7 separate regions of the Homo sapiens genome follow, and regions 1, 2, 4, 5, 6 and 7 are each linked to region 3. Evidence: promoter capture Hi-C in human tissues and cell types (Jung and others, 2019). All regions are on one chromosome and are shown on one strand. Each heading gives the region's core, a stretch centred on a gene start or on the middle of the fragment in contact. The rest is flanking DNA. Distances are from core to core; before and after follow the strand shown.

Region 1 (4,102 bases), core at 1,049-3,548, 1.2 Mb after region 3:
GAGGCAGGAGAATCACTTGAACCCGGGAGGAGGAGATTGCAGTGAGCCAAGATCACGCCATTGCACTCCAGCCTGGGCAACACGAGCGAAACTCCATCTCAAAAAAAAAAAAAAAGGAGCAAAATTCAAAGTTTTTAATTGAGTTGCACGTACATCAGGCTTTTCAAACCAACTTATCAACTTGAGAAAATAGCCTTTGACTTCAAGAGACAGACTCAAACTCATGACATGTTTCTTTTTTTTTTTTTTTCTCTGTTTTGAGACAGAGCCTCACTCTGTCACCCAGGCTGGAGGGCAGTGGTGCGCTCTCGGCTCACTGCAACCTCTGCCTCCTGGGTTCAAGCGATTCTCCTGCCTCAGCCTCCCAAGTAGCTGGGACTACAAGCACCCGCCACCACGCTCAGCTAATTTTTGTATTTTTAGTAGAGACAGGGTTTCTCCACATTGGCCAGGCTGGTCTCAAACTCCTGACCTCAGGTGATCCACCCTCCTTGGCCTCCCACAGTGCTGGGATTACAGGCATGAGCCACAATGCCCGACCTCATGACATGTTTCAATTGAGACATGACTATCTACTCAAAATAATTTTTTTTTAGAGAAGACATTTAAAACGGAAACTTTGGAAGTCAGTTTACCCACATGGATCAAATGCTTTCTAGAAATACCACACACTTAACCTAAAAATTTCACTCATAGGAGCTTGTCCTAAGACCAGAAGGGGACCATTGGATGCAGATGAATGTATGAGGATGTTAACAGCATTGCTTTTTATAATAGAGAAAACTCAGAAAATAACCTAGATGACTATTGGTAGGAGATTGATGAAACAAATAATGGCATACCTATGCAGGGGAATACTTTACAGCCATTAAAATTATGCTACAGATCAATAATTATTAACATGGAAGATAGCCATTGCCAAAAACAACATTGCTTTTAAAAAGAAACGTGTGTACAAAAATATGCTTACCTTAAAAAATGTTTGAAAATTATTCATCACAGTGTTAACAGTGCCTGTCTGAATGTTAGGATTATTGGCAATCCATTTTTTCTTTGTGCTTTTGTATATTTTGTAAGTTACTTGAAAGAAACACACATTATAATAATGTATAAAAATTAAAAGTTATTAAAAGTCCATTGATAAAATTCTTTCAACATTTAAATGAATAATTGATCTATGTATGGCTTGTGTTTACTCTAAGTTATAAATTCTCAAAGAATAGGGAGCATTTTTTCTTCTTATATTCTCTCCCCAGCTCCATACGCAACACTGCGTGTAATAACTCTGTAATGGCTGTTGATTGACTGGGTATTTAGACGTCAAGCATTGAGGAGATATTAGCAAAAATAGCTAAGAACTAAATTGCATGGCTGGGCCTTTGGCACTAGAATGTTAATAATTGAAAACTAAAACCTTCAAGTCATTTGTTTTTATTATAAATGAACCCACCTCTCACAACTCCCCTTCGGTTTTGAAATCCTGCCAAAGTGTTTCTTCTGATCCCATCCTTTGGCTAATGTGAAAGTTTTAAAAGCTTCTTAATGACATCATTATCCTGCAAATCATCATGAAGGAGACAAAAATGAATCAGGTTTTTGGTAAAGCCGTGCATGGATCTGTGATTTCTGATATGGGAGCAGAGATTGTCTAGGCAACTTTGAGAAGGTAATAAAGTCTTATTTGGCAATCTCAACTTTCTCACCAGCATCTTTGACCTCTGTGTCAGTCAGCTATTGCTGTGTAACAAACAGATCAAAAAGAATTCGGTGGTAAAGAAAAATAGCATGTGTTTTTTGAACTAAACTGGGCTCATCTGGGAGTCTTTGCTTCTTCAAGCTACGAGTCTGGTCGGCCCCACCCCTTCCACCTCTATGATTTGGATCTCAGTCTGCACCATGTGTACTCATTATGGGGTCCATGTTCAAGGGCCAGAAGCTATTCAGGGGAAGCTCTTCTCATGTAAATAACGGAAGGGCAAGAGTGCCTGTCCAACTGTGCAAGCATACAGCAAATCTCTGCTTGTGTCATCTGTGCTCACATCCTTTTGGCCAAAGCCAATGCCCCACATCAGTACAGCAGGAAAATAGATTCTGCCTCCGTAAGACTACACAGCAAGCATGCATGTTAGACAAACAAGAATTCAATTTACCACACCCTGCATTTCAGCAAATCTCATTCACCACTTCTCCTACTGAGCCATTCAGTGTCTTCATGCAGTCCCTGGCTTCTTCACACGGAGGTATTGTGAATGGAATGAAAGGAAATGAAATTTGTATTATTAGAAAGAGTATCATGTGGGAACATTACTGAACCCCAGGAAATGAACTGTAGGATTTCAGACAAGACAGCCCTCCAAGACACTTCTACATAATCATCTATGCTGCCCAAGGGAAAAGCCAGTCTGGCCTGAAGTGGTAAACTGCACCTTCCTTTTTTTCTTTCTTTTTTTGTTTTTTGTTTGTTTGTTTGTTTTTTGTTTCAGATGGAGTCTCGCTCTGTCACCCAGGCTGGAGTGCAGTGGTGCAATCTCGGCTCACTGCAACCTCCGCCTCCTGGGTTCAAGCAATTCTCCTGCCTCCCGAGTCTGGGATTACAGACACCCACCACCATGCTCAGCTAATTTTTTTTGTATTTTTAGTAGAGATGGGTTTCACCATGTTGGCCAGGCTGGTCTTGAACTCCTGACCTCAGGTGATCCAACTGCCTCAGCCTCCCAAAGTGCTGGGATTGTAGGTGTGAGCCACCACGCCCAGCCTACACATTCCTTTTGAGCAAATAAAGGCTGATGTGATGTTTTGTTGGCCCAGTTCTTTTTTCCTTTGAAGATTCTTCGGAGAGGAAAAACTCTTCCCCAGCAGAGGTGGGTGCAGGGTCTGGTAGATTGAATTCTTGTTTGTCTAGCATGCATGCTTGCTGTGTAGTCTTACAGAGGCAGAATCTACTTTCCTGCTGTGCTGATGTTGGGTATTGGCTTTGGCCAAAAGGATGTCCAGCATAAATGACACAAGCAGAGATTGGCTGTATGCTTGCATAGTTTTCATCTCTCTTAGTCATCTTGTAGCCAGAACGGAAAAGAGCACAGGGCAGAGGCACAGAGAGAATTGTGCCAGGCACACAAGGAGAGTGCTTACAAGCTGAGGGAAGAATAGAGTCCACTTTGCCTCGATTTGAGAAGATACACGGTGATTGCCGCCACAGCGTGGGGCAGGCAGGAGGTCACCTCCACCGGCTGTTGTAATTGGCACCATCTGAGGAAGAGCATTTAGATTTCCTTCAAATTGCTGAGTGGGAACAGCATTTACGCTAATGACTCCTTGCTTTAAATCTCTAGGGAAAGCGTATGAAATTTTCCTTTATAGAGTTGTAAATGAGGCTGTGTTTTGTGGGGGACAGTGGTGAGGTATGCGGATAAATGGGTACCCTATTAGGAATGTTGAAAGGAGGCAAGTTGTGGGTTAAAGAGGACTTCTGCAGGGTTAGCAACTAACAGAGGCTTTTAGCTTTTTCTCTCCAAATCTAGAAGCTCATTGGCAATTTTCGTGTCTATTGTGTTCTGAATGAGAACGGGCATCCGTAGCTCTCAGGGGCTTGAACATGGCTGAGATGAGAGGAACACAGAGCAGTCTCATCACTAACACAAGGCAGTCCATGGTGAGACCTAGAGATGAGTACCAAAAAAGAGGGAGGCTTGAAAATAGGATGGTTGGGCCGGGTGCAATGGTTCACGCCTGTAATCCCAGCACTTTGGGAGGCCGAGGCAGGTGGATCACTTGAAGTCAGGAGTTCAAGACCAACTTGGCCAACATGGGGAAACCCCATCTCTATTAAAATACAAAAAAAAAATATATATATGCACGTGTAGTGATGCACACCTGTAATTCCAGCTATTCAGGAGGCTGAGCCAGGAGAATCACTTGAGTCTGGGAGGCGGAGGTTGCAGTGAGTCGAGATTACGCCACTGCACTCCCGCCTGGGCAACTGAGTGAGACTCCAGCTAAAAAAAAAAAAAAAAAAGAAAAAAAAAGAAAAAGAAAAGAAAGAAAAAGAAAAAGAAAAGAAAATAGGATGGTTGGAGGGAGGGGGGTCCTCAAGCATGGCTCT
Region 2 (4,210 bases), core at 903-3,402, 1.5 Mb after region 3:
AAATATTTTGTAAGAAACAAGTCAAATATTACCCCTGGTAAAATTGCTTAAGGTCGTGTCTGTGTGAAGAGAGAGAGGGAGAGAGAGATTGAGATTCCTGGCACACAGTTGGAATCTCAGTTAAAGTTAGCTTCCCTGTGAACCTGGTATCTATACAACAAAGAGGGGTGCATCTCTCAGAACCCCAGAAGACATACAATTGTGCACTGCAGCTCTATTCGTTATTGTCAAAATCTGGAAACCGACCAAATATTCATGGACGAACAAGAAAAGCTAAGTACGGTACGATTCCATTTGCATGAAGTATAAAAAGACGCAAAACTAATCTCTGGTGATAAGAGAGACTAGCAGTTACTTGTGGGGGAAGGGAGTGGGCGTTGACTGGGAGGGGGCCACAGCGGGGAACCTCTGGGGAGCTGGAAATGGTCTAGGTCTTGAACTCAAACCATGGCAGGAACATTTACACCACAGAAATTATCAAACACAAATCAACCCCCGGCTCCCCACCGTCGCCAATGGAGCCGAGGCTTAAGACATTTGCAAATTTACCACCGATTTCTAGAAATGTAAATAGTGGAGTTCATTTAAGATTTGTGCGCTTTGGTGTGGACGTTTTACCCTAGTAAACGTTAAACACTGGCAGTAGGCTTTCCATAGACTACCTGTCACCAGCTTTCCTTTGCCAGTCTTCAACCTGCGGCTCCAGGGGCACCCGCCGCACTCCACCGACTCCCATCCACCGCTCACCATCCACCGATTCCCATCTCTTCATTCTCTGCACCAGGTGCCCTCAGACATCACTGGGCGCCCTAGGGCATCTCAAAGCCATGTTTGGAACTCCTGCAGGAAGCCCTCCCTCCTCCTCCTCCTTCCTTCCATCCAGGGGTCTTCTCGGGGCTTATCCCTTCAAGGCCTAACCTTGACCCACCCTATCTACGCAACATTGATTCCCACCCCTACCCTATTCCCCAGAACCTTCAGCAGTGCCTAGCGCAGCTAGGACTCAATCATCGCTTGTCCACTTAATGAATGACTCTTGGCACAAATTTCCTCGTCCTTTTCTGCCCCAGACAGACACCCCACAAACATGAAGTTACCCTTGATTTTTCCACTTTCTTCCTCCTGCCTGCAAATTCCTCAATCACAGGTGGTGCAAATCCTACCTCTAAATGGTACTGAATCTGCCTACTTTCGGGGCAACCTCCCTTACCTGGACCACAACTGCACCAGCCTCCTTTCTCCCTCAGGAGCTTCCCAATCCATTATCTCCCCTGCGGCCAGAGATCAGTTTCCTCCTGGGGTGCATTTAAGCCATAGGAAGCAGATCGCTACCCTAGGCCCGTCCCTCCCCACCCCTTGGTCTGGACACCCTCTGGGCTCATCTTAGGCCGCAGTCGCCGAAGCCTTCCTCCTCCGGTTGGACCCCCAACCAGGTCAGGCTGTCATAGCGTTTATCATGACGCTGGCGTGTCGCCCTGTGTCCCTCGGCCGTCTGCAGGATGGCAAACTTATGGCCAGGGCCCAGCACATTTGGGCACCCAACACATCCGTTAGAATGAACAGAAACTTCCCCTCTCCGAGCCTGTGGCCTCATCTGTAAAACAGAGATCGCGAGATCCCATGAATACCGTGGGGATTGAATAAGGGATTTTTTCGTTTCAAGCAGCAGGAACAGCGCGGGATGGGTGCTCAATAAATGGGAGCTCAAAAAATCCCCAAAACTGCCCAGAGCCGCGGCTATTCCTTGCAAACTGCTGGACACTGCTGGGCTCAGCCCACAAGTGTCGGAGTTTGCATCAGATTTTCAGGTCGTACTTAGCAAAGGGACTCCCGCACGACAAAGCTGTTTACGAAACAGAAACCAGAACTGGGGCAGTGACACTTTGGGGCCAGCAATGCCCTCTCCCAAAGCCCCAGGCGCCCAATTTCCGCCGAAATGCTTTCCGGGGTCGAAGGGCGCCGGGGCTCCAGAGTGCCGAGGTTCCGGGGTCGCGCGATTCCGCAGCTCCCAGGCGCCGACCCGGACCCCCGGCCGCGGCACCTACGCCCCGCCCCAGTCGCTCCACGCCAAAGCCCATTGGTCGGCAACCTGTCCCTCCTGCTCATGTGATGCGGCACGTGACGCAGCCACGTAAGGCCGCTGCGCTCACGTGACGCGGTCCCGGAAGTTGACCGGGGTGCGGAGCTCCTGGGCTGCAGCTCCTGGAGTTTCCGAGGTTCGTGCGCGTCTGGTGGCGGCGGCGTGATGTTCTCGGCAGGAGCGGAGAGTTTGCTCCACCAGGCCAGGTACGGGGGAGCTGCGGCCCCGGCCCTCCTTCCTGCATCTCTCCCTAGGGGCACACGGGGGTGGGTCTCACAGGGCAGGGGCTTGGGCGCCAGCCTTGCAGGAACCCGACTGGACTCGCCCTCGAGACTTGGGGATCGGGTAAGGCAACACGGCGGCCAGGCTTGGGGTGAGGAGGTCGGGGAGGGTCATGGTGGGTCCCCGGAGGAGGTGACACTTGAGCAGAGTCTTGGTGAGTGAAAGCAAGTGGGGTGGGACCCAGTCGACAGTTTAGTCAAAGGCTTGGCGGTGAGAACTCCGCGTCTGGCAGGAAATCGGGCAGCCGGGAGATTTCAGTGCCTCACAGTCAAGAACGCAAAGTCACAGTGTCCGGAGGCCTGCTAAGGAATAAGGCTGTGTGCCAGGCTGGGGAGCTGGAGGCCATCCGAGGGCTTTGCGGAACCGTGGGAGGGTTTTGTGACTTAAAAAGATCTCTCTTGCGCGGATGTATTAGCTAGGCTGAGAAATCACCCTCCAGGCTGGTTTCAGGCTGTGTCTGGACTCCCAGTAACGAGTGAGTAGCTCCTTCCTCACCAACTAACCAGTCATGGGGGAAAACAGTGTAAGCCAGGACTGAACAGACTCACGGTCCACCAAACAGGCAAAGACTTCATACTACATGTTTAAAAGAAGAAAATGCTGACCGGGCGTGGTGGCTCACGCCTGTAATCCCACCACTTTGGGAGGCCAAGGCAGGCGGATCACCTGAGGTCAGGAGTTCGAGACCAGCGTGCCCAACATGAGGAAACCACGTCTCTACTGAAAATACAAAAAAAAAAAAAAAAAAAAAAATTAGCCGGGCGTGGTGGTGGGTGACTGTAATCCCAGCTACTCGGGAGGCTGAGGCAGGAGGATTGCTTGAACCTGTGAGGTGGAGGTTACAGTGAGCTGAGATGGCGCCACTGCACTCCAGGCTGGGGGACAGAGCGAAACTCCGTCTCAAAAGAAAAAAGAAAAAAAGTAAAGAAAATACAGCCAGCACTACAGCCCCTTGGTAAACGTAAACAAACTTGGTGAGGTGAGAGGCCGAAGCAGGAGAAGTGCATGAACCCAGGAGGCCGAGGGTGCAGTGAGCCAAGATCGCACCACTGGACTCCAGTCTGGGTGACAGAACGAGACTCCATGTCAAAACAAACAAGCAAACCTGGACTCAGAGCTAGACCAATTGGTGGGAAAGATTCGGGTGGTTGAAATTGCTGTGATTATAGTGAGTGAGGTCTTGAAGGCAGGTTAAGTTCTAAAGCCCGAACAGGACAAAAATCTCTGATCAAAATAACCCTTAAGAGTCCACTCATTAGGAAGAGGCTTGGTGAATATGCAGCACCATCTCCCAGCAGCTCAACATAGGCAACCTTCCCTTCAATCCTGGACAGATATGTCATTCATGTGAATGTGGGGACTATATGAAAATGAAAAATACTGGCATCTCAGCATGTAACATGTTAATCCCAAGGTCCTTGCCAAGAGACAAGGAAAAACACCCACTGAGAACTTCATTCCCAGTCACATTCTGCTCAAGGTCATAAACTTGTGACATGAAAAACAAAAGGAAGAGCCCTCTTTATTTATTTATTTATTTATTTATTTATTTATTTTTATTAGAGTCTCTTTTGAGACAGAGTCTCCCTCTGTCGCCCAGGCTGGAGTACAATGGCGCAATCTCAGTTCACTGCAACCTCCGCCTCCTGGGTTCAAGCAATTCTCCTGCCTCAGCCTCCCAAGTAGCTGGGATTACAGGCGCCCGCCACCACACCCGGCTGATTTTTTGTATCTTTAGTAGAGATGGGATTTCACCACATTGTCCAGGCTGGTCTCGAATTCCTGACCTCAGGTGATCCGCCTGACTCGGCCCCTCGAAGTGCCGGGATTACAGGTGTGAGCCACCAT
Region 3 (3,958 bases), core at 993-3,492:
ACCCTGGAGATGGGAATTATTCCTAACTTTTTACAGGAACTTGGAGTCAGCGATTTGCCCAAATTTCACAACTACAAAGGGCGGAGCTGAGTGAGACCTCAAAGCCCCATGACTCCACTCTTGGATCACCAGCCTCTATCTCCCAGCAAAGCAGAGGTGGTTGGGGTGAAGAGGAAGGGAGGTGAGCTCCCGACCTTGGGCAAAACACTTCACTTCCTTTATTTATTTATTTATTTATTTATTTATTTATTTATTTATTTATTTATTGAGACAGAGTCTCACTCAGTCGCCCAGGCTGGAGTGCAGTAGCAAGGTATCGGCTCACTGCAACCTCCACCTCCCAGGTTCAAGCAATTCTCCTGCCTCAGCCTCCCGAGTAGCTTGGACTACAAGCGCACGCCACTACGCCTGGCTAATCATCTTCTTCTTCTGTCTTTCTTCTTCATTTTCTTCTTTCTTTTTTCTTTTCTTTTTTTTTTTTTTAACTGCAGACGAGGTTTCACCATGTTGGCCAGGCTGGTCTTGAACTGACCTCAAGTGATCCGCCCGCCTCGGCCTCCCAAAGTGCTGGGATTACAGGTGTGAGCTACCGCGCCCGGCCCACTTCTTTATGCCTCAGTTTCTCCATCTGTACCAGGGCCAGCACCTCTCACACAGCAGGTAGTGAAGCTGCTGCTGCTGCTGCCCTGGGCTGGCCTACAGTGAGTGCTCACTGCACAGGAGGTATTGCTTCCCCCCGCCCAGCAGGTTCTCATTATAATCTTGCAAGTTTGAAGAAACCCAGCCTTGCTACCAACAGAAGATAAAAACAGACATGCCTCTCTGCCTCCAGTCTCATCCCCATGTCCTTGGGGAGCTGTCCTCTTCCGGCTCGTCCCATCTATGCGCCCTCACTATATCCTCAGAACAGGGCACTCCGTGGCTCCTTTAACTTTTTTGCCCCTCCTAGCATGGTGTGGAAAGGGGGCAGATGGGAGGCCTCTTTCTGAAACCACCTCCTGTTCGGCGGCTGTACTTGGACCTCAGTTTCCCTGTTTTGTTCACGTGGTCATTGTTAAGTCTTAGGGGACGTGTACAGAGGCTAATATTGAGCCACCAATCAGTTATTTGACAAATACCATAGGCGCTCTGTGAGCAGGAGCTGGCTCCTATCCCAGACCCCAGCCCTGTGACCTGCTCTCCACTCGCCCGGGGTCTTTCTTGGCTGGGACAATAAACCTACTGCATCAGGTGATTCCTGGGGAGTCAGCCCCGTGCTGGGCTCACACCCAGCCCCTCTGCGTTCATCTCTTACATGATCTCATGCGACCATCATCACACGTCCCCAGGCTCCTCCCGGGCCAACTCCAGAGGCAGTGCGTGTCACCTCCAGCTCTCCTCCCACAAAAATGCTGGCCTTTCAGCCTCCAGTGCGCTTAGTTCACCCCATAAACTCTGCTAATGCTTACCACATGCTGAGCGTCGGCGCCCGTCCCCACCCCCAGCCCCACAGGCTCCCGGGTCCCGCCCTGGGAGACCCTCCCACTGGCCGACCCTGCCCCAAGACTCGCCCACTCCACGGTGGGAAACCTGCAATGTGTCCCTCCCTACCCCGCCCTCCTCCAGCGCCGGCCAAAAGTGACCTTGGACGCTTCTACAATGCCATATCCACTCCTCTGAACAGGAGGCGAGTTTGCACCCAGTGGTGCCTTTGGTTGCTAGAAATTAAAAACCCGATTGCGCGTGTTTGCAATTACGGTAACTTGGCGCGTCACCCCCAAGCACTGAGCTAGCTGGTGGTAGCCGGGCGCCTCTCGGGGCGCGCCCTATTCCGCCCTCGGCCCTGGGCTGCCGCACGATCTGCGCGTCCTGCTGCACCTGAGCCCTTCCCACTCGGGCGCCCGCACCGCTGCGGGGCCGGGCGAGGATGCACCACCCCCGCCCGCGAGCCCGCCACGGGAGCGCGTGCCGAATCGACGCCGCCTGCAGTCCCCACTACGGGTCCCTAGGGGGCGCAGCCGGCGCGGGAAGCCGCCCGAGCCAGGCGCCGCGGCCGGCACAAAATTGCAGGCGGGCGGGCGCCGCGACTTTGAAAACAAGCGAGGGCCTGGGGGGCGGGCCCTGGGAGCGGGCGCCGCCTCCCTCGGCCAATCAACGGCGGGCGGCGGGCGGCGGGCGCGGGCGGCGCGTGCGGCCGGGCTGTGAATGGGGAGCGGCGGCCGCGGCAGCTGAGGGCGAGCGCGACCGCGACGTGCGGGCGGGCGCACTTTCTTCTCAGCGCCGGGCGGGGGCGGCGGCGGCGGCGGCTCCTCCGCGCCCGGCGGACCCCTCGGAGCTAGCGCGGCGGGCTCGGGACTGCGTGAGCGCCGGACGCGAATTTCCCCCGTTGACAACTTCTTCTCGCCCGGCTCGTCCCCGGCCCGCGCCGCGCCCCTCACGCGGGGACCCAGGACGCCGCCCCTCAGCGCTGGGCGGCCGCTCACCTCGGGCCGGGGGGCGCCGCGCCTCCCGCGGAGTGGCCGCGCCCGCTCGGAGCCGTCCCGCCTGTCCTGCCCGCCCGTCCGTCCGGCGCGGCGCTCGGGGTGGCGGCTGCTCGGCATGGCCCGGGGCGCCCGGCCCTCGGCGGCCGGTGGCGGCGGCGGCGGCGCGGAGCCCCCTGAGCGCGCGGGCCCCGGGCGGCCGCGGGGATCCCCGCCCGGCCGCGCCCGCCCCTCGCTGGCGCCGCGCCCCGGCCCGGAGCCCTCGCGACCCCGGGCGGCGCCCGAGACCTCCGGCGGGGACACGGCGGGCGCGGGGCGGTGCGGCGGGCGGCGGGCGGCAAAGTTGGGGCCGGGCCGCCGCGGCTGGTGGGCGCTGCTGGCGCTGCAGCTGCACTTGCTCCGGGCGCTGGCGCAAGGTAGGTGCGCGCGGGGTCGCGGGCCGGGGGCGTCGCCTCGGGGCGCGGAGGCGCGAACTTGAGCAGCGAGAGTGTGTCCGGGGTCCCCCCGCTTCCCGGCCCGGGTCGGGATGCGCCTTGCTGGGGGCTCTAGGGAGCCCAGGGGCTCCTCCACGCCAGACTCGGAGGAGAGGGAAACGGAGCCCCGTAGAGCCTGCACCCCGTCTGCTACTTTGCGTTTTATTTTTTTTATACCGCAGTAGCACAAACAAAAATTTTTAAGTTGAGGACCCATTTCTCAGCTCCTTAAAAGGATGCCCGAGTCCCCTTCCCATTGCATGGATGAAAAAGGGGCTGGTCTGTACCTGAGTCTTCGCACCGCAGGGTCTGGTTTCCGGTGAGTGACATCCAGAAGACTTGGAAATATCAAGTGCCAGTCGCTGTGAAAAGCCTTTTCCAGCCCCTCCCCAGGGCCTCGTCCTCTCCCCAGCCCCCGCCTGCTCCTGACTCCCCCAAGTCCCAAAGCCCGACCCCAAGTGGGTGCTGCGCGGCCGGTGGAGCAAAACTTTCAGTGCCCACAGCTTTTGCACTTGGCTTTGTTTTTCTCCCTCTATTGGCTTCTGTTTAGAATACAGTGGTGAGCTCTGAAATAGGGAAAGAGGATCTGCTGAATGGAAATGACCTTTTGAAACGAGAGATGGGATCTCTTGTGAAACGAGCTTTCCTTCCCAAATCTGGGCTTCCCTCCACCCCCTCCCCGCCCCCGACAAAACCCGTAACGTACCCCTGCCAGCTAGCATCGTTTTCTTTTGAAGTTTGCTGGTCTTTAAACCAAAACACCCCCCTCAACCCAGAAATAACTATTTTAATACGTCCTTTGGTAACGTCTTTAAAACACATTAGTGAACTGGTTTTGCTGATGGTAGTTTTAGGAAAATTAACTTAGTTGTATTCCAAGATACAGCTAACGAACAATCATGGTAAGGAACTCGATATTCTGAGATTGGCGAAGATGAGAGCATTAAACTTAAATTAGCTGTGTTCTGTGTCCTGTGAAGATGATTTATGTGTAGTAACATGACTTAAATGTTGTAACATTTTAAA
Region 4 (4,146 bases), core at 611-3,110, 1.7 Mb after region 3:
GGTTCACGTCATTCTCCTGCCTCAGCCTCCAGAGTAGCTGGGACTACAGGCATCCGCCACCACGCCCGGGTAATTTTTTTATTTTTGGTAGAGAAGGGGTTTCACCATGTTGGCCAGGCTGGTCTGGAACTCCTGACCTCAAGTGATCCACCCGCCTTGGCCTACCAAAGTGCTGGGATTACAGGCGTGAGCCACTGTGCCCAGCCGTGAGACCCACTTTTCTCTTAATTTCCCCAATTCCTAGAATAGTGCATGGCCCACAGGAAATCCGCAGAATATATTTGCAGAATGAATGAATGACTTGCCAAAGGAATTAGGGCAAATAAGTAGATATCGAGTAAACATCCACAACCACCTGCCCCATACCCTTTTCAGCTCTGGGGAGATGGTGGCTCCTGTGGGGTCGGGGATTGGGGGTCTCCGTTCCTTTCATCCTCCAGCCTCGTGGGGGAGTCAAGTCTCCGTAGGCGGAGAGCCCGGATGCAGGCGCGGCTAGGCTGCCCTCTCTATGGTGAGCCCCCCGGTCCCTCCTCCGCAGCACCCGGAGTGCCTCTATGGTTCTTCCTGTCGTTAGTCGGGAGGGGGCGCTGTACGCGCGCTGTACGCTTGCGCGAGGTGACGCCGGGGCAGGGCCGGAAGGAATGCAGCGGCTGCCACGGAGCTCGTAGCTGCAGCTTTGGAGGAGTAAGCGGCGTGGTAGCGAAGGTCGCCGAACCCGCCTGGCTAGCCGGCGAGTTGAGTGGCGAGTGAGTGTCGGCTGCGGGGCGCGCTCGAGCTTCTGGGCGGGTCTGTGAGGCGAGGCGGCCTCCCTGCGTGACGCCTCCGTTGAGCTGCGGGGGTGGGGGCGGGGGCGCGGGCCGTGAGCACCACAGAGCTGAGGGGCGCGGCCGAGGCCCGGGCGGGATCGGGCCGGGGAGCTGGGCTGGGCGTCTCCAAGCCCCCTGCGGTGGCGAGGCGGGAGCGACACCCTCCCGCCACTTCGCGAAGTTTCGCGAGCCGGCCCCTCGGGCCGCTTCCCTCCCTCGGGCCCGAGGCCGCCGCGGAGGCGGTGTCCGTGCACCCGAGCGCGGCCTGGAGGAGCGGCGGGAGGCGGCCCGTGCCTGTGAACCCCAGCCCAGGCGGGCGGCGTTTTTCCTCCTCTCCCCTCACATCTGGAGCGCGTGTTGTTCCGTGAAACTTGGCGACTGTCACCCGGCACTCGCGAGGGCGCCGCAAGTGCGTCAGACCTTTCTGCGGGGCGCTGGGGGCTGGCCCGGCTCGGGGGTCCGGGCGCTGGGCAGGGAGCGAGGCCGCTGTCCCCGCGTCGAGGTGGTTCTGCTCCCGGTGGAACGGGACCAGGGCTCTAAGACTTGGGCCACTTGCAGCCAACGTGGAGCGTGCGCGGCGTGCGGGTTACAGAAATTTCTGACAAATCCGCCAGGGCTCTGTGAATCCTTAAGGGCCTGGGTAGCAGTTGTCCTAGGTACTTTGATAGTGCAAAGAGAACGTTATTATTTTTTTTTTTTTCCTTTTTTTGAGACGGAGTCTCGCTCTGTCGCCCAGGCTGGAGTGCAGTGGCGCGATCCCGGCTCACTGCCAGCTCTGCCTCCCGGGTTCACACCCTTCTCCTGCCTCAGCCTCCCGAGTTGCTGGGACTACAGGCGCCCGCCACCACGCCCGGCTAATTTTTTGTATTTTTTAGTAGAGACGGGGTTTCACCGTGTTAACCAGGATGGTCTCGATCTCCTGACCTCGTGATCCATCCACCTCGGCCTCCCTAAGAGCTGGGATTACAGGTGTGAGCCACCGCGCCTGGCTGTATTTTTTAATTTAATATTTAAATATGTATTTAAAATTTGTGTATGAATTTACATAAATGGTATCACACTTTCATTTAACGTTAATTTAACTGTGTTGTATCATATGAATTTTATTTATTCCTTTATTGAAGTCCAGTAAGGCCATTTCCAATTGCTTTTATTGCATATTTGCTGTAATGACCACCATCCCTGTCCGTATATTCTATTATGCATATTTCTTGGAGAACACACAGAGGTTTCTTTAGCTAATATACCTGGAAGTGGAATTGCTAAGTCACAGGGAATGTACATTTGTAATTTAGGGCGTATTGCTGATTGCTATTCAGAATATCTTTTCCAAGTTACTATCCAAACCAGCAATGTATAAGATTTCCCATTTCTTACATACTTGCCTTTTTTGCCACCCCAGTGGTTTGAAACATAATTCCTTTTTTTTTTTTTTTTGTGACGGAGTCTCACTCTGTTGCCCAGGCTGGAGTGCAGTGCGGCGATCTTGGCTCACTGCAACTTCAGCCTCCCGGGTTCAAGCGATTCTCCTGCGGCAGTGTCCGGAGTGGCTGGGATTACAGGCGCGTGCCACCATGCCTGGCTAATTTTTGTATTTTTTAGTAGAGCTGGGGTTTCACCGTGTTGGTCAGGCTGGTGTCCAACTCCTGACCTTGTGACCTGCCCGCCTCGGCCTCCCAAAGTGCTGGGATTGTAGGCTTGAGCCACTGCGTCTGGCTGAAACATAATTCATTTTCTGATTTGCCTTTCCCTGATTATTAGTGAGGTTGAGCATCTTCTGTGTTTTCTTTTTTGTGAATTGCCTATTAATACCCTTAGCCCATTTCTTTGTTAGCATATTTGTATCAAGATGTCATTTCTCTGTCAGTACTTTGTCTCTTTAATATGTGTATTTTAAACATATGTTTTAATGTCATAGGTTTTGAGTTTGTGTGGTTTTTTTTTTTTTGACCCACCTCCTTGGATATGTTTTCTTAAGGAATGTTTTCAGCATAAGCTTCAGATGTCCCCCTGACCAGATACATGGCAAGAGTTTTGATACTCCCTCATTCTTACTGTTCCTCTTTGCTTCCTTTTCAGCTCTTTTGAAACAGATGGTCACCATGTTTAGATATTAGCAGTCCCGTATGTGCATGTCTGCATTTGAAAATGGAAGAGGGAAACAACAATGAAGAGGTAATTCACTTGAACAACTTTCACTGCCATCGGGGACAAGGTAAGTTGTTTGTTCTCACTTCATCCCTTTCCCTGTGGCTTTTTCCTTTTAGTATCACAGCTGTATCTTTTGAAATGAACCTATTTTGTACCATTTAGAATCCAGGGACATTTCATTTTTGACATAAAAAGACTAGTTAGACTAGAATTATATCAGATAATGATATTGCTGGCATGAATGAAGTGTAAGACTCATTCATTGCAACTGGATTAATAAGCTGTTAATTTACTGGCAAGACGCTGTTAATATGTAGTCATTGAGTCTTAAGAGACAGTGTCAGCATCAGTTTTTGAAGGCGTGGTGATTATAAAGGAGTGCTCCACTAGGCATTTATGATCTGAAATACTACAGGTGATGCTGAACCAGTCTTGTCCTCCCATGATGCCTAATTTCTTTTTTGCCAGAAGATTCTGGCTTAGCCTTGAGGGGAATTTTGGAACATGTATTTTTTTGTTCTGCAGTTTTGGTTTTTTTTCTTTCTTTTTTTGAGACGGAATTTCGCTCATTGCCCAGGCTGGAGTGCAATGGCGTAATCTCGGCTCACTGCACCCTCCACGTCCCGGGTTCAAGCGATTCTCCTGCCTCAGCCTCCCGAGCAGCTGGGATTATAGGCATGTGCCACTATGCCCTGCTAATGTTGTATTTTTAGTAGAGATGGGTTTTCTCCATGTTGGTCAGGCTGGTCTTGATCTCCTGACCTCAGGTGATCCGCCTGCCTCGGCCTCCCAAAGTGCTGGCATGAGCCACCCGCCTGGCCACATTTGTTAATTTTCATTACAAAAGGGATAAATATGGGCCAGACAAATGGCTCACACCTTTAATCCTCGCACTTTGGGAGGCTGAGGCAAGAGGATTGCCTGAATCCAGGAATTCAAGGCTGCAGTGAGCTATGTTAGGCTACTGCACTCAAGCGTGGGAGACAGATTGAGACCTTGTCTCTATTTAAAAAAAATTTGTTATGATAAATATGCTGTTTTAAAAAATAAGTTCTCCTGAAGAATATAAAATGAAAAATATACTCTTTCCCCTCCTTCTGATCTGCAGAGGTGAAATAGTTGTAAATTTTTTTTTGTTTTTTTGGAGACGGAGTCTTGTTTTGTTGCCCAGGCTGGAGTGCGGTGGTGT
Region 5 (4,154 bases), core at 493-2,992, 1.3 Mb after region 3:
CTCACACCTGTAATCCCAGCACTTTGAGAGGTTGAGGCAAGTCAGGAGTTCGAGACCAGCCTGGCCAACGTGGCAAAACCCCGTCTCTACTAAAAATTAAAAAAAAAAAAAAATTAGCCGGGCATCGTAACACACGCCTGTAATCCCAGCTACGCAGGAGGCTGAGGCAAGAGAATCGCTTGAACCCAGGAAGTGGAGGCTGCAGTGAGCCAAGATCATACCACGGCACTCCAGACTGGGCAATAGAGTGAGACTCCATCTCAAAAAAAAAAAAATAGACACAAGGGAACGTGCTAAGGCAACTCCTGGTACCAGTACCACTTCTTGGCCTGTTAGGAACCGGGAGGTTCAGCAGGAAGTGAGCAGCGGGCAGGAAGGTGAAGTTTCATCTGTATTTACAGCCACTCCCCATCGCTCGCATTACCGCCTGAGCTCCGTCTCCTGTCAGATCAACTGCGCAAACCCTATTGTGAACCGCGCATGCGAGGGATCTAGGTTGTTTGCTCCTTATGAGAATCTAATGCCTGATGATCTGCCACTGTCTCTCATCGCCCCCAGACAGGACCCTCTAGTTGCAGGAAAACAGGCTCAGGGTTCCCACTGATTCTACATTATGAAAGTTGTAGAATTATTTCATTCTATGTTATAATGTAATAATAATAGAAATATAATGCACAATAAATGTAATCTGCTTGAATCATCTCAAAACCATCTCCCCGACCCGGGCCCACGGAGAAATTATCTTCCACGAAACTGGTCCCTGGTTCCAAAAAGCTTAGGGACTGCTGTTCTAAGGGGCTAGGGAGGTTCTGTTTCTTGACCTGAGCGGTAGGCACGTGGGTGAGTTCACTTTCATCCTTTCACAGTCCTGCTTTGCACGTTTTTCTGTCTACATGCTATACTCCAATACACATCTCAAAAGACAATTACATATGTGTGTGTTAGACAGAAAGAAGGAAGAGGGCAGGGAGAGAAAACCACCGCATTCAAGCATCGCCGCCTCTAGGTGTAAGGTTCATTCCAGGACTGCCTGGAGTTGGTGACTTTGCATTCCTGCAGAGGAAACCCACTTCCTTTGCCTGTGTTCTCGGGCCGACTTCCCATATCTGCTGACCAGAAATCCTTCCTTGCAGCCGCCCCTGTAACGGGGCTGGCATTTGCAATTCGAAAGTGTCTTTGGCCTTGTTTTTCCGAGGAAATGAAAACGCTATGCGTTATCAGCATATCATCCAACAATTTATCATCACGTTGGCACCTGACAATGTTGATTTATGATTCCAGCAGGAAGAGCAGCCCTCCAACCCCCCACCAGTTCAGAAATGGAGACATCGAGGAGTCCTGAGCACAGGCAGGAGAGACTATGAAGTTATCGTAGACTCGATGTCCACAAGTGCCGGTGAGAATGACTGTGCAGAGACCATCTGAGCTCCCTGCAGATCTCACGACTCTTTTCCTCCTCCCCTTGCTCCCGGGTGCTTTGTCTCTCACACTCGGCCCCTGTGGAGCTGTTCTGCCTATGCAAGCAGAAATTGAGAGGTGCCTGGGGTTCCTGTCCCCCCAGCCAGCTCTTAGCCAATGGCGAGCAGATTCCAGAAAGTGAAAGCCCCGCTCCCTTTGCCTGAGTCTGGACAGACCCTGGGGCATAACTTACGCTGCAGTGCCTTCCTGCAGGATTGGGCCAAAGCCACCCCAGGGGGATTTTGCCAAAGGACCTTACTCTGGCTTGGCTCCTGGGTCCCCTCCTCCTACTCCCTTCCAGACCTCCCGGGACCACGGCATTCCTACGTGGCTTGCACACAATTCCTTACCACAGAGTTTGCTTCTGGGGAACCTGACCTAAAACCGAGGGGAAAATGGATTCTAGCATTTTTCAGATTCAGAAACGGGAGACCCAAATGGCCCGGGCCTCCCGCCTCCCGCACACAGGCCTGTGTATCAAGTTTCTGCAAGCACAAGCAAGAGGCTTGCAACGTGTTTGCAAGCAGTCATCATCATTTCCAGGATTGGCTATGACTCGGGTTGCAATGTTTTATTTCAGTTCACAGACAGACACAGGCCACACTCCAGGGCTCATGCCCACATCCGTAGCTTGGAACTCGAGATGCACTGTCTAGGATGGCCAACATCAGGACGGCACCCACCAGCAGACAAGCCTGTTCCCAGAATAGCCTTCTTTTTTATTTTTTTGAGACAGGGTCTGGCTTTGTGGCCCAGGCTGGAGTGCAGTGGTGCAATCATAGCTCACTGCAGCCTTGACCTCCTGGGCTCAAGTGATCCTCCCACCTCAGCCCCCCAGCCCCAGTAGCTGGGACCACAGGCATGCACCACCACGCCTGGCTAATTTTTTTTTTTTTTTTTTTTTTTTTTTTTTTTTTGTAGAGACCAGGTTTCACCATGTTGCCCAGGCGGGTCTCAAACTCCTGGACTCACGTTATTCACCCGCCTCGGCTTCCTGAAGTTCTGGCATTACAGACATGAGCCACTACACCCAACCAGAAAAACCTTCTTAACCCATGTGTTTCTGAACCTTGATTTTGTTTTATTTTAATTTTTTATTTTTGAGACAGAGTCTCACTCTGTCACCCAGGCTGGAGTATAGTGGCATGATCTTGTCTCACTATAACCTCCACCTCCCAGGTTCAAGTGATTCTCCTGCCTCGGGCTTCTGAGTGGCTGGGACTACAGGTGCCTGCCACCACACCCGGCTAATTTTTGCATTTTAGTAGAGACTACGTTTCACTGTGTTGGCCAGGATGGTCTCGAACTCCTGACCTCAGGTGATCCACTCGCCTCGGCCTCCCAAAGTGTTGGAATTACAGGCGTGAGCCACTGCGCCAGCCTGAACCTTGATTTTAAATAAACTAATCTAAGTTCCAGTGGTCTTCCCTTAGTTTGAAGCGGAAGATAGATTTTCTTCTCCTGGAATCAAGTCTGCTATGCAGTAGAGCAGGTGGAAGCTCTGGGAGCTCAAAGACCTGGGAAGGTCTGGGAGCTCAAAGACCTGGGAGCTCTGCCACTCACTAACCACGCGCCCTGGGATAGGCCACTGGCCCTCTCTGCCCTCCAAATGTCCCATCTGTGCAATGGACACAAGAACGCCAACCTCTCAGGACTAGAGTGAGAATTGTCCAATAATATTAGGCCAGGTATGGTGGCTCACAACTGTAATCCCAGCACTTTGGGAGGCCTAGGTGGGTGGATCATTTGAGGTCAGAAGTTTAAGACCAGCCTGGCCAGTATGGTGAGACCCCATGTCTACTGAAAATACAAAAATTAGCCAGATGTGGTGGCACTCACTTGTAGTCCCAGCTACTTGGGAGGCTGAAGCAGGAGAATCGCTTGAATCTGGGAGGCGGAGGTTGCAGTGAGCTGAAATTGGGCCACTGCACTGCAGCCTGGGTGACAGAGCGAGACTCTGTCTCAAAAATAATAAAAGTAATAATATTATTATTACTAAATGCAACTGGGCACGGTGGCTCACACCTGTCACCCCAACACTTGGTTGAGGGCTCCACCAGGAGGATCGCTTGAGGCCAGGAGTTCGAGAGCAGCCTAGGCAGCATAACAAGACCCTGTCTCTACAGAAAAAAAAAAAATTGTAATTAGCTGGGCATGGTGGCACATGCCTGTGGTGGCAACTAGTCAGGTGGCTGAGATGGAGGACCGCTTGAGCCCAGGAGGTGGAGGCTGCAGTAAGCTATAATCACACCACTGCACTCCAGCCTGGGCAACAGAATGAGACTTTGTCTCAAAAAAAAAAAAAAACAATAGAGATGCATTGCTTCACAGTTCCAGAGGCTAGACGCCTGAAACCAAGGTGTTGGCAGGGCCCTGCTCACCCTGACCCTGTAGGAGAGGACCTTCCTGGCCTTGGCGCGTGGCTGCATGACTCCAACCTCTGCCTCTCTTATCACATGGCCTCTTGTCTTTTCTCTGTACATCTTGTATGGACATCAGTCATGATGGATTAAAGGTTCACCTCCCTCTAGGGGGACTTCATCTTAACCAATGACAACTGCAACAACTCCATTTGCAAATAAGGTCCCAATCACAGATTCTGGGGGCTAGGACTGCAAAGTTTGCTTTGGTGGGAAACACAGTCCAACTGATACCAATGGATAGACAAATAAGTGGTGGTATTCCATACAATGGAA
Region 6 (3,662 bases), core at 1-2,500, 1.4 Mb after region 3:
AGGGAAAATACTGTTTATTTTTATTTTATCTTAGCTTCAGGGGGTACACGTGCATATTTGTGACATGGGTATATTACTGGTGGGGATTGCGCTTCTGGGGTTCCCGTTACCTAAAGGGTGAACCGCGTACCCCGTAGGTCATCTTTCACCCCTCGCCCTCTCCCGCCTCCCTGCTTAGGAGTCCCAGTTTCTCATTGTTTCGATCTTCCTGTTCCCGGGTACCCACTGTTCAGCCACTGCTTGTAAGCAAGAGCAGGCGCTGTGCGGTATTGTTTCTGAGTTGGTTCACTTGGGATAAGCGCCTCCAGCTCCATCGCGTTGCTGCCCAGGTCAAGATTTCATTCTTTTTTATAGCTGGGAGTAAAGAAATTGTGTACTGAGCACCTGAAGCTCTTGCAGCTGGAGCTGTTCTGAGAAGCTGGGTGGCGGCCTCCTGTGACTGCGAGTCCCCGTCAGGGGGTGCGAGCAGCTCCCTGGGCCTGCACCTGCCCTGCTCTTGCTGCGGGAGCCAGGAAGGTGGGGGGCCACCCCTTTCCCCTCCTTCCGCCCAGTCCTGTTCTTTGAAACCGCCCTGTGCAAAGACCGGATTCTTGTTGGGGAGAATTCTGTGCGGAGAAAGTAGTAAGTTAGGGACTGGCTGTCTGGCTTTTTGGCCTTCCATTGTTACAATAAAAGCCTCTCTGTTTACATCCGTTTATCTTAGCACCCTGGAATTCAATTGAGTGTTTAGAAACCTCAGAGGCCCTTGAGGTTTTCCCTGCCAAGATACTTTTCAGTTTGAGTTTCTGCTGTAGGGTGGAGCCGGCGTGTTTACAAACACTCCCTGCCCTTCCCTGCCACCTCCCCACTCTCCTCCTCTCTGGCTGCGCTCCCTAACAGATCGGGAGGTGGGAGCGGGGCCAGGCCAGAAGAGCTGGCTGCCTGCAAGGCTGTCCCCTCCCAGTGCCGCCCCGCCCCCGCGGTGCCTGCCTTCCTAATTTGGTGTGCATTCGCCTCGCCAGTCCTCATTGGCCGTGGAGTGGCTGGCTCGGTGTAGGCCGGGCTCGCCCAGGGCCCCTCATTCCCAGGAGTCGGGAGTGGCTTGGGAGCGGCTTTTTCCTGGGGGAGCCTCCCTGATCAGCTGCCCCTGCCCCCGCCCCCCGCGCCACCCTGCGTCCTTCCTTTCCGTTTCTCGCAGGCCCTCGCTCCTTTTCCCAGGGTGGGTGGGTATGGGTGTGGGTGTGTGGTTTTGTGTGTGTGTGTGTGTTTCTGATTTATTTTTTTCTGCCCTGAAGTACTCCACCCAGAAAATGAATGAACTCTCTTTGAAATAAATTCTGCTATCTTTAGCAGAAGTTTGACCTTTTCTTTCCTTTTTGCAAAGAAGGATTTTTACAGGCCAGGCGCCCGGTGGCTCAGGCCTGTAATCCCAGCACTTTGGGAGGCTGAGGCAGGCGGATCACCTGAGGTCAGGAGTTCGAGACCAGCCTGGTCAACATTGTGAAACCCCATCTCTACTGAAAATACAAAAATGAGCCAGGTGTGTAATCCAAGCTACTTGGGAGGCTGAGGCAGGAGAATTGCTTGAACCTAGGAGGCAGAGGTTGCAGTGAACCAAGATTGCACCACTCCAGACTGGGCGGCAGAGCGAGACTCCATCTCAAAAAAAAAAGTGTTTTTAGGAAGGAATTAAAGTATTTAATGAAAGAATTCAAGTAGTTAATCATTTTCTAGGTTCCATCAGACAGACACCAGTCTAAAAAGTGTTCCTTAGAGGTAGAGTTTTAAGAAAACTGCTGAAATTCAGTGAAAGGACATTGCACAGAGTGACTGTTTTTGCTCATGAGGGCAAGACTTCAAGAGCTGTTTCTCTTAAGGCTCTTCCTGATTTCTCCAACGTGGAGATCAAAAATGAAAGTAACTCGTACAATTCGGCGAAGGTCAGCAGTATGTAAATATACAGTAAAAATGCAGCAACTGACTTCAAAATCTTTCCCTTTTAATCATGATTTTTAAACAGTTCTGTCTTATTGCTAGATAACATTCAGTCCTAACTTGGTTTATGTTGTTTTGTAAAGTTAGAGGTCTTTTGAGTTTGGAGGTTATTGGATCTACGTTAGAAATACTCTCCTTTTTCTGACAACTTTGGTAGCTTCCTGCAGGGTGATTCATCTCTTTCAAAGTTTCTGGTTGGCTGGGTGTGGTGACGCACTTTGGGAAGCTGAGGCAGGAGGATTGCTTGAGGCCAGGAGTTCCAGACAAGCCTGGGCAGCATAGTGAGACCCCCATCTCTAAAAAAAAAAATTTTTTTGCTAATTAGCCAGGTGCAGTGGCTCATGTCTTTAGACCCAGCTACTCGGGAGGCTGAGGCAGGAGGATCGCTTGAGCCCAGCAGTTGGAGGCTGTGGCGAGCTATGATGTCACCACTGCACTCCAACCTGGGCAACAGAGCAAGACCCTGTCTCAAAAAATTAATAATTAAAAAACACAAGTTTGTGGCTGCAGCCTTCCGTGTGTTTTCAGCAGGGCTGCAGGAGGATTGTGGTGCGAATGTGTGAATCACCCCTAGCGGGAATCCTGCCTGGCTGATCTGGGCTGGCTGTGCCAGCATTTGCAAATCCAGTGAGGGTCCCTCTTCCCTTGTCTGCCTGTCCCTGTCCCTGTAGGCCTTGCTGCCCCTCCCCACCCCACCACACCCTCTTATGTCTTTTCCCAGCTGAGAACTCTGGGGAAGTAACTATTGTTTCCTCCACATGGGAAGGTTGGGACTTTCTGTCTTCCTTTTATTTTTCCCTCCTGCCTAGATCCCTTCGAGGGGCAACTTTGGCGCTAAAGTGTTGGGAGTTCGGAATGAAGCTTGGTAGGGAAGTCCTTGTGTTTGTCCGAATCTGTTGAAAGGACATCCCCACGCCCGCGTTTCCTGTAATCTCGGAGGGTCCTAGCGCCCGACTTCTCAGGTCAGCCTCGGGTGACAAGCGGCTTGTGTGGAGTAGGCCTGTTGCATGGCTTCTGTGCGGGCATGTTACGCACGAGGACAGCCCTTTCCGGGTTCCATGAGCCTCAGGGGAAGCAGGAGGCGCCTGCAGACACGGAGCTGACCCCGGAACCTGCCTAGCTGCGGGGCCGCCTCTCCGCTCAAGCACCCACTCAGCTCTGTGAGGTCTATGCCTAACATGAGAGCAGCTCCTGTTGAAGCCACCATGCTGGTTATTCTCACCAGGGCAAAGTGCACTTCAGAAACAAGTTAATTTTATTTTCTAAATTATTATTTTTAATGCTGGTTCCAATTTGGGTTTGGGGGGTTGATTTTGTTTTTGTTTGTTTGTTTTTTGGGACAGGGTCTCACTCTATTGCCCAGGCTGGAGTGCAGTGGCACAGTCACAGCTCACTGCAACCTCAACCTCCCGGGCTCAAGCGATCCTCCCACTGCAGCCTCCTGAGTAGCTAGGACTACAGGCACCCACCACCACACACACCCAGCTCATTTTTTATTTTCGTTGAGATGGTGTCTTGCCCAGGCTGGTCCTGAACTCCTGGCCTCAAGCAGTCTTCCCACCTTGACCTCCCAAAGTGCCAAGATTACAAGCCTGGGCCTGTTTTTGTTGTGGTTGTTGTTGCCTTTGTTGTTTTTGTTTTGTTTTGAAGCAGGGTCTTGTTCTGACACCCAGGCCGGAGTGCAGTGG
Region 7 (3,860 bases), core at 795-3,294, 1.4 Mb after region 3:
AGTCTGCGTGAACGGACTCTCCGGGCCTCGCCCATGCTCCGGGCGTGTGGCTGTGTTGGGAGGACGGGAGCTCTACTGCTTGGCAGTGGACACACCAAGGCTGCCGACTGGCCCAGTGGGTGGCGATGCCACTTACATGTGATTTCTCAATCTCCGTCAACTGCCGTGGCTGCCCGGGCTGGGCTGCCCTGTAGGTTTCAGTTCTTCAGGGCAACAGGCTGGGATCCAGGCAAGGTGCCTGCACTCAGAGGGGTAGGGAGCCAGGGGCACATGTGCTGGGCGTGGGCTGGGGCTTCTGGCTGGCAGGGGTGTGGGTTTGGGCCTGGTGGGATTCCCCATATTAGGAAGGTGAGCTGAGCTCGGCTGCAGTGGCTGAAGCAAGGAAGTGATTTGTCAAGCCATTTAGACACTGTCCCTGTTTTCTTTCAACAAACAGAACTTTTTTTTTTTTTAAGCAGCGAAGACCTTTTGCTCTCTGTTGGGGTGTGATTGGGGTTTGCATTTGGGGGCTCTCTTGAGCTTTGCCGCTGTCTTCAAGGATGGTATCTAAAGGGAAAGTCTTAAAATAAATAACTTTGAATTTGGATAGGAATGTCTATGCAGTGAGGGACAGGAGGCTTCCGTGTGTTTCACTAGAACGTTCTTGTTTTTGGCCTACGAATGCTTTTACTTAGGAAGCACGAGACCTGTGCTGCAGACCGTCTGTTGGAGCTGGCCGCGGCAGGACGGCGATCACCTTCCTGGCAGGCCCCTCCTGGATTCTGCCCTCTGCTTCTGAAAGCGTTTCCTCCATCAGCTTTAGCAAAACTGGGCCTGGCAGATCATTTGAAGTCAGGAGTTCGAGACCAGCCTGACCAACATGATGAAACCCTGTCTCTACTAAAAATACAAAAAAGTTAGCCGGGCACAGTGGCACGTGCCTGTAGTCTCAGCTACTCAGGAGGCTGAGGCAGGAGAATCGCTTGAACCCGAGAGGTGGAGGTTGCAGTGAGCCAAGATTGTGACATTGCACTCCAGCCTGGACGACAGAGCGAGACTCCGTCTCAAAAAAAAAAAAACCGTGCCTGGGCCTTGGAGGTGCCTGAGTCCAGAAGACAGACAGCGGGAGCTCACTCCTGCCATGTCGCTCTTGTTTCTTCTCCCCTCTGCAGGGCGGCAGCTGCTTTGCCCTCAAGACTTCTCTTTTCGCCCACTCTATTCATAGGGGGAAATGACAACACAGGCGCTTTCCCTCAAACTCTGTGTATTCATACATCACCAGAGTGTTCAGAGAAGTGGGATATTTTGGTGAGTTAATTTACTTAATGTGCTTAGCACACAGTACCTGGTATATATAATAATAGCAGATATTAGTTGTCAACTACTAATTTTAATTTTTTTTTTTTACAAACGGGGTCTTGCTCTGTCACCCAGGTTGGAGTGCAGTGGCACAATCATAACCCATTGCAGCCTTGAATTCCTGGGCTCAAGTGATCCTCCTGCCTCAGTCTCCTGGAGTAGCTGGGACTACAGGCATGCACCACTATGCCAGGCTAATTTTTTTATTTTTATTTTTTGTAGAGACGGGGTCTCACTCTGTTGCCCAGGCTGGTTTTGCACTCCTGGCCTCAAGTGATCCTCCCACTTTGGCCTCTCAAAGTGTTGGGATTACAGGCGTGAGCCACTGCTCCCAGCCTATTATTATTATAGAATTTCATGTTAAGGTTTGCAGGTTATTCTTTTACTTTATTTTTAAATTTTATTTGTTTATTTTTTTGGCAAGGGCGTCTTACTCTGTTACCCAGCCTGGAGTGTGATGGTGTGATCTCAGCTCATTGCAACCTTCGCCTCCCGGGTTCAAGTGATTCTTGTGCCTCAGCCTCTGGAGTAGCTGGGATTACAGGCATGCAGCACCACGCCCAGCTAGTTTTTATATATTTAGTAGAGACCCGTTTCACCATGTTGGCCAGGCTGGTCTTGAACTCCTGACCTCAGGTGATCCTCCTGCCTTGGCCTCCCAAAGTACTGGGATTACAGGCTTAGCCACGGCGCCCGGCCTGATTTTGCAGGTTGTTCTAAAGTGCGGTGTTTCTCCTTTTAGGCTTCAGTGCTGAGGGCGGCCTGCTGTCCGTCCCTGCGGCAGACTGGGCCCTGTCCCACCTTCCCGTCACTCCTCGATGTCACATCAGAGTGCTCTCTCCTGGGTGGGAACCCGCGCACGGAGGAAACACTTTACCAGAGTAAACGAGATTATAACTTGTTTGCCAGAGAACCTCTCCTGTGGCCATGCCTGAACCTCTCCTGGGACTGTCCGTGGTCTTCACATTGGTGCTTGGACACCCGTCCTTCGGGAGGGGAGGAAAAGCGGCCGGTAAAATGGAGACAGTCGGTGGCGTGTGTTTGCCGATTGGACTGGCATTGGTATAGACAGATACCAATCACTGCACAGACATTTCCAGGGGCCCTTCCCCAGCCATGTTTAGTGGCACTGACCTCAGGCAGCTGGGCCCCCGGGACAGCAACCAGGGGACTGCCCTGGCCCTGGATGGCAGCCGGGACCGGCTCACAAGCTTCTGTTTGGAGCAGTTCTGTTGGCAGCCCCCCGCCTCCAGTGGAGATGTGACACGACTCTTTCTTGCCTGCCAAACGTTCTCTGATTCTTTGGATCATCGATCCTAACACAGCAAAGGCGGTATTGTTGCTGTCCTTTCAAGGTTAATCCAGGATCAGAAAAGTCTAATCATTTCTCTGTGGTTTTTGGAATTTCCAAAGAGCACCCAGATTTTAACCCTCAGTCCTCGGGGTTGTCCGGCTGCGGCTGTGCTGCTGTTGAGCATTAAGCTCATTCCACTTCACATGTAAACTTGTTTCTATGCATTCACCTCCTGGGAGACTCCACATTCCTGAGAGAACTGCATGGTTATGAACTCTTACTCGTGTGCACTAAAGTGCACGTGCTGTGTGTGTACTGACCCTCTGCCCTGTGGGAGCCACGTGCTGTGGGGAGAACAGACCAGCAGCAGATGGGACTCCTCCTCCAGGAACCTGCTACCAGCTAGGCGTGGTGGTGCAAGCCTATACTTCTGGCACTTTGGGAGGCTGTGGCAGGAGGATCACTTGAGGCCAGGAATTTGAGGCCAGCCTGGGCAACATAGTGAGACCACGTCTCTTTTTGAAAAAAAAAAAAAAAAAAAAAGAAAGAAAAGAAAACGTATTTTTCTTAAGTCGGGCATGAGAGTGAGCCAGGGAATTCAAGGAAGGCTGCCTAGATAGAGAAGGGGACCCTGGGGAACAGTCTTAGAGGACGCAAAGTCTATGCAGATAAACCAGCGTCTGGTACTTGGTATCAGTCAGGTGGCCAGTGAATAATGACTACGTGGAATTACTGTGGACAGCATTTTGAGATCTGCAGATTAAGCCATTTTGACTTCCCAGAAGCATTTTCTTAAATCAGCGTAGAGACAGAAGATGAAAGTTAACCTGAATTGCTCGTCGCAAGCAAGCTCTGCCCGGGTCAGCCCCAGAGGGTTGCAGAACACTGTGTCTGTGTCCGCTGTCTTAAAGAGCCTAGTCCATCTTTACGCGGTCTTTTTACGTCTGTTTAAGCCACACAGCATGGTGGGGAGCGGAGGTGATTTCGGAGCCTACTCTCCGATCCTCAGGATCCTCTTCGGGAGCAGCAGGCAGTGGCTTTCTCCTGGGCCAGGCAGGGTTGTCTGGGGAGTGGAACGTCTGCTAGAAATGCAGATCGCTGGGGCCACCGCCGTTTGGCCGTGTCAGTCATCTGGGGGTCCCTTAGCCTCCGCAGAGTAAAGCTGTGGGAGTCACCACGGGTCCCCATGTTGGGATTGGGAAGCAGTCACCTACCAGATGAGCGTTCC

Evidence for each region. Contacts are between HindIII fragments. The study calls those that stand out against the background at their distance.
Region 1: a contact is called between a fragment that was not itself captured here and the fragment with the promoter of SDK1 in region 3, in 1 of the 25 tissues and cell types used here (dorsolateral prefrontal cortex).
Region 2: the fragment with the promoter of AP5Z1 here is called in contact with the fragment with the promoter of SDK1 in region 3 in 1 of the 25 tissues and cell types used here (dorsolateral prefrontal cortex).
Region 4: a fragment that was not itself captured here is called in contact with the fragment with the promoter of SDK1 in region 3 in 1 of the 25 tissues and cell types used here (dorsolateral prefrontal cortex).
Region 5: a fragment that was not itself captured here is called in contact with the fragment with the promoter of SDK1 in region 3 in 1 of the 25 tissues and cell types used here (dorsolateral prefrontal cortex).
Region 6: a contact is called between a fragment that was not itself captured here and the fragment with the promoter of SDK1 in region 3, in 1 of the 25 tissues and cell types used here (dorsolateral prefrontal cortex).
Region 7: a contact is called between a fragment that was not itself captured here and the fragment with the promoter of SDK1 in region 3, in 1 of the 25 tissues and cell types used here (dorsolateral prefrontal cortex).

Annotation. Positions count from the first base shown.
Region 1 is chr7:4,462,506-4,466,607 of GRCh38, forward strand. The region is part of intron 1 of LOC124901579 (a long non-coding RNA gene); the gene reads left to right. Among named protein-coding and RNA genes, the nearest start is that of FOXK1, 220 kb to the right of the region's middle. The HindIII fragment of the contact is 4,829 bases long and covers 1-4,102 here.
Region 2 is chr7:4,773,471-4,777,680 of GRCh38, forward strand. It overlaps AP5Z1 (adaptor related protein complex 5 subunit zeta 1), which reads left to right and starts at 2,153. Exons shown (of 17, transcript NM_014855.3): 1 at 2,153-2,286. The coding sequence starts at 2,246. RefSeq lists enhancers at 895-1,571, 1,572-2,248, 1,622-1,671, 1,712-1,801, 2,232-2,301 and 2 more and a silencer at 1,982-2,111. The HindIII fragment of the contact is 20,755 bases long and covers 1-4,210 here.
Region 3 is chr7:3,299,010-3,302,967 of GRCh38, forward strand. SDK1 (sidekick cell adhesion molecule 1) reads left to right here and starts at 2,243. Exons shown (of 45, transcript NM_152744.4): 1 at 2,243-2,875. The coding sequence starts at 2,578. It overlaps SDK1-AS1 (SDK1 antisense RNA 1), which reads right to left. Exons shown (of 3, transcript XR_001744897.3): 1 at 3,220-3,958. RefSeq lists enhancers at 810-1,322, 1,323-1,834, 2,544-3,044 and a silencer at 1,720-2,269. The HindIII fragment of the contact is 11,292 bases long and covers 1-3,958 here.
Region 4 is chr7:4,973,416-4,977,561 of GRCh38, forward strand. It overlaps the pseudogene RNF216P1. Among named protein-coding and RNA genes, the nearest start is that of MMD2, 16 kb to the left of the region's middle. RefSeq lists an enhancer at 498-1,096 and a silencer at 809-1,188. The HindIII fragment of the contact is 5,809 bases long and covers 1-4,146 here.
Region 5 is chr7:4,612,046-4,616,199 of GRCh38, forward strand. No RefSeq gene overlaps it. Among named protein-coding and RNA genes, the nearest start is that of FOXK1, 68 kb to the right of the region's middle. The HindIII fragment of the contact is 7,496 bases long and covers 1-4,154 here.
Region 6 is chr7:4,744,244-4,747,905 of GRCh38, forward strand. The region is part of intron 2 of FOXK1 (forkhead box K1); the gene reads left to right. Among named protein-coding and RNA genes, the nearest start is that of AP5Z1, 30 kb to the right of the region's middle. RefSeq lists an enhancer at 210-259 and silencers at 950-1,049, 1,160-1,209. The HindIII fragment of the contact is 5,421 bases long and covers 1-3,662 here.
Region 7 is chr7:4,725,577-4,729,436 of GRCh38, forward strand. All of the region lies in intron 1 of FOXK1 (forkhead box K1), which reads left to right. It overlaps LOC124901581 (a long non-coding RNA gene), which reads left to right. Exons shown (of 2, transcript XR_007060199.1): 1 at 1-1,287; 2 at 2,081-3,860. Among named protein-coding and RNA genes, the nearest start is that of FOXK1, 45 kb to the left of the region's middle. RefSeq lists an enhancer at 1-30. The HindIII fragment of the contact is 6,895 bases long and covers 1-3,860 here.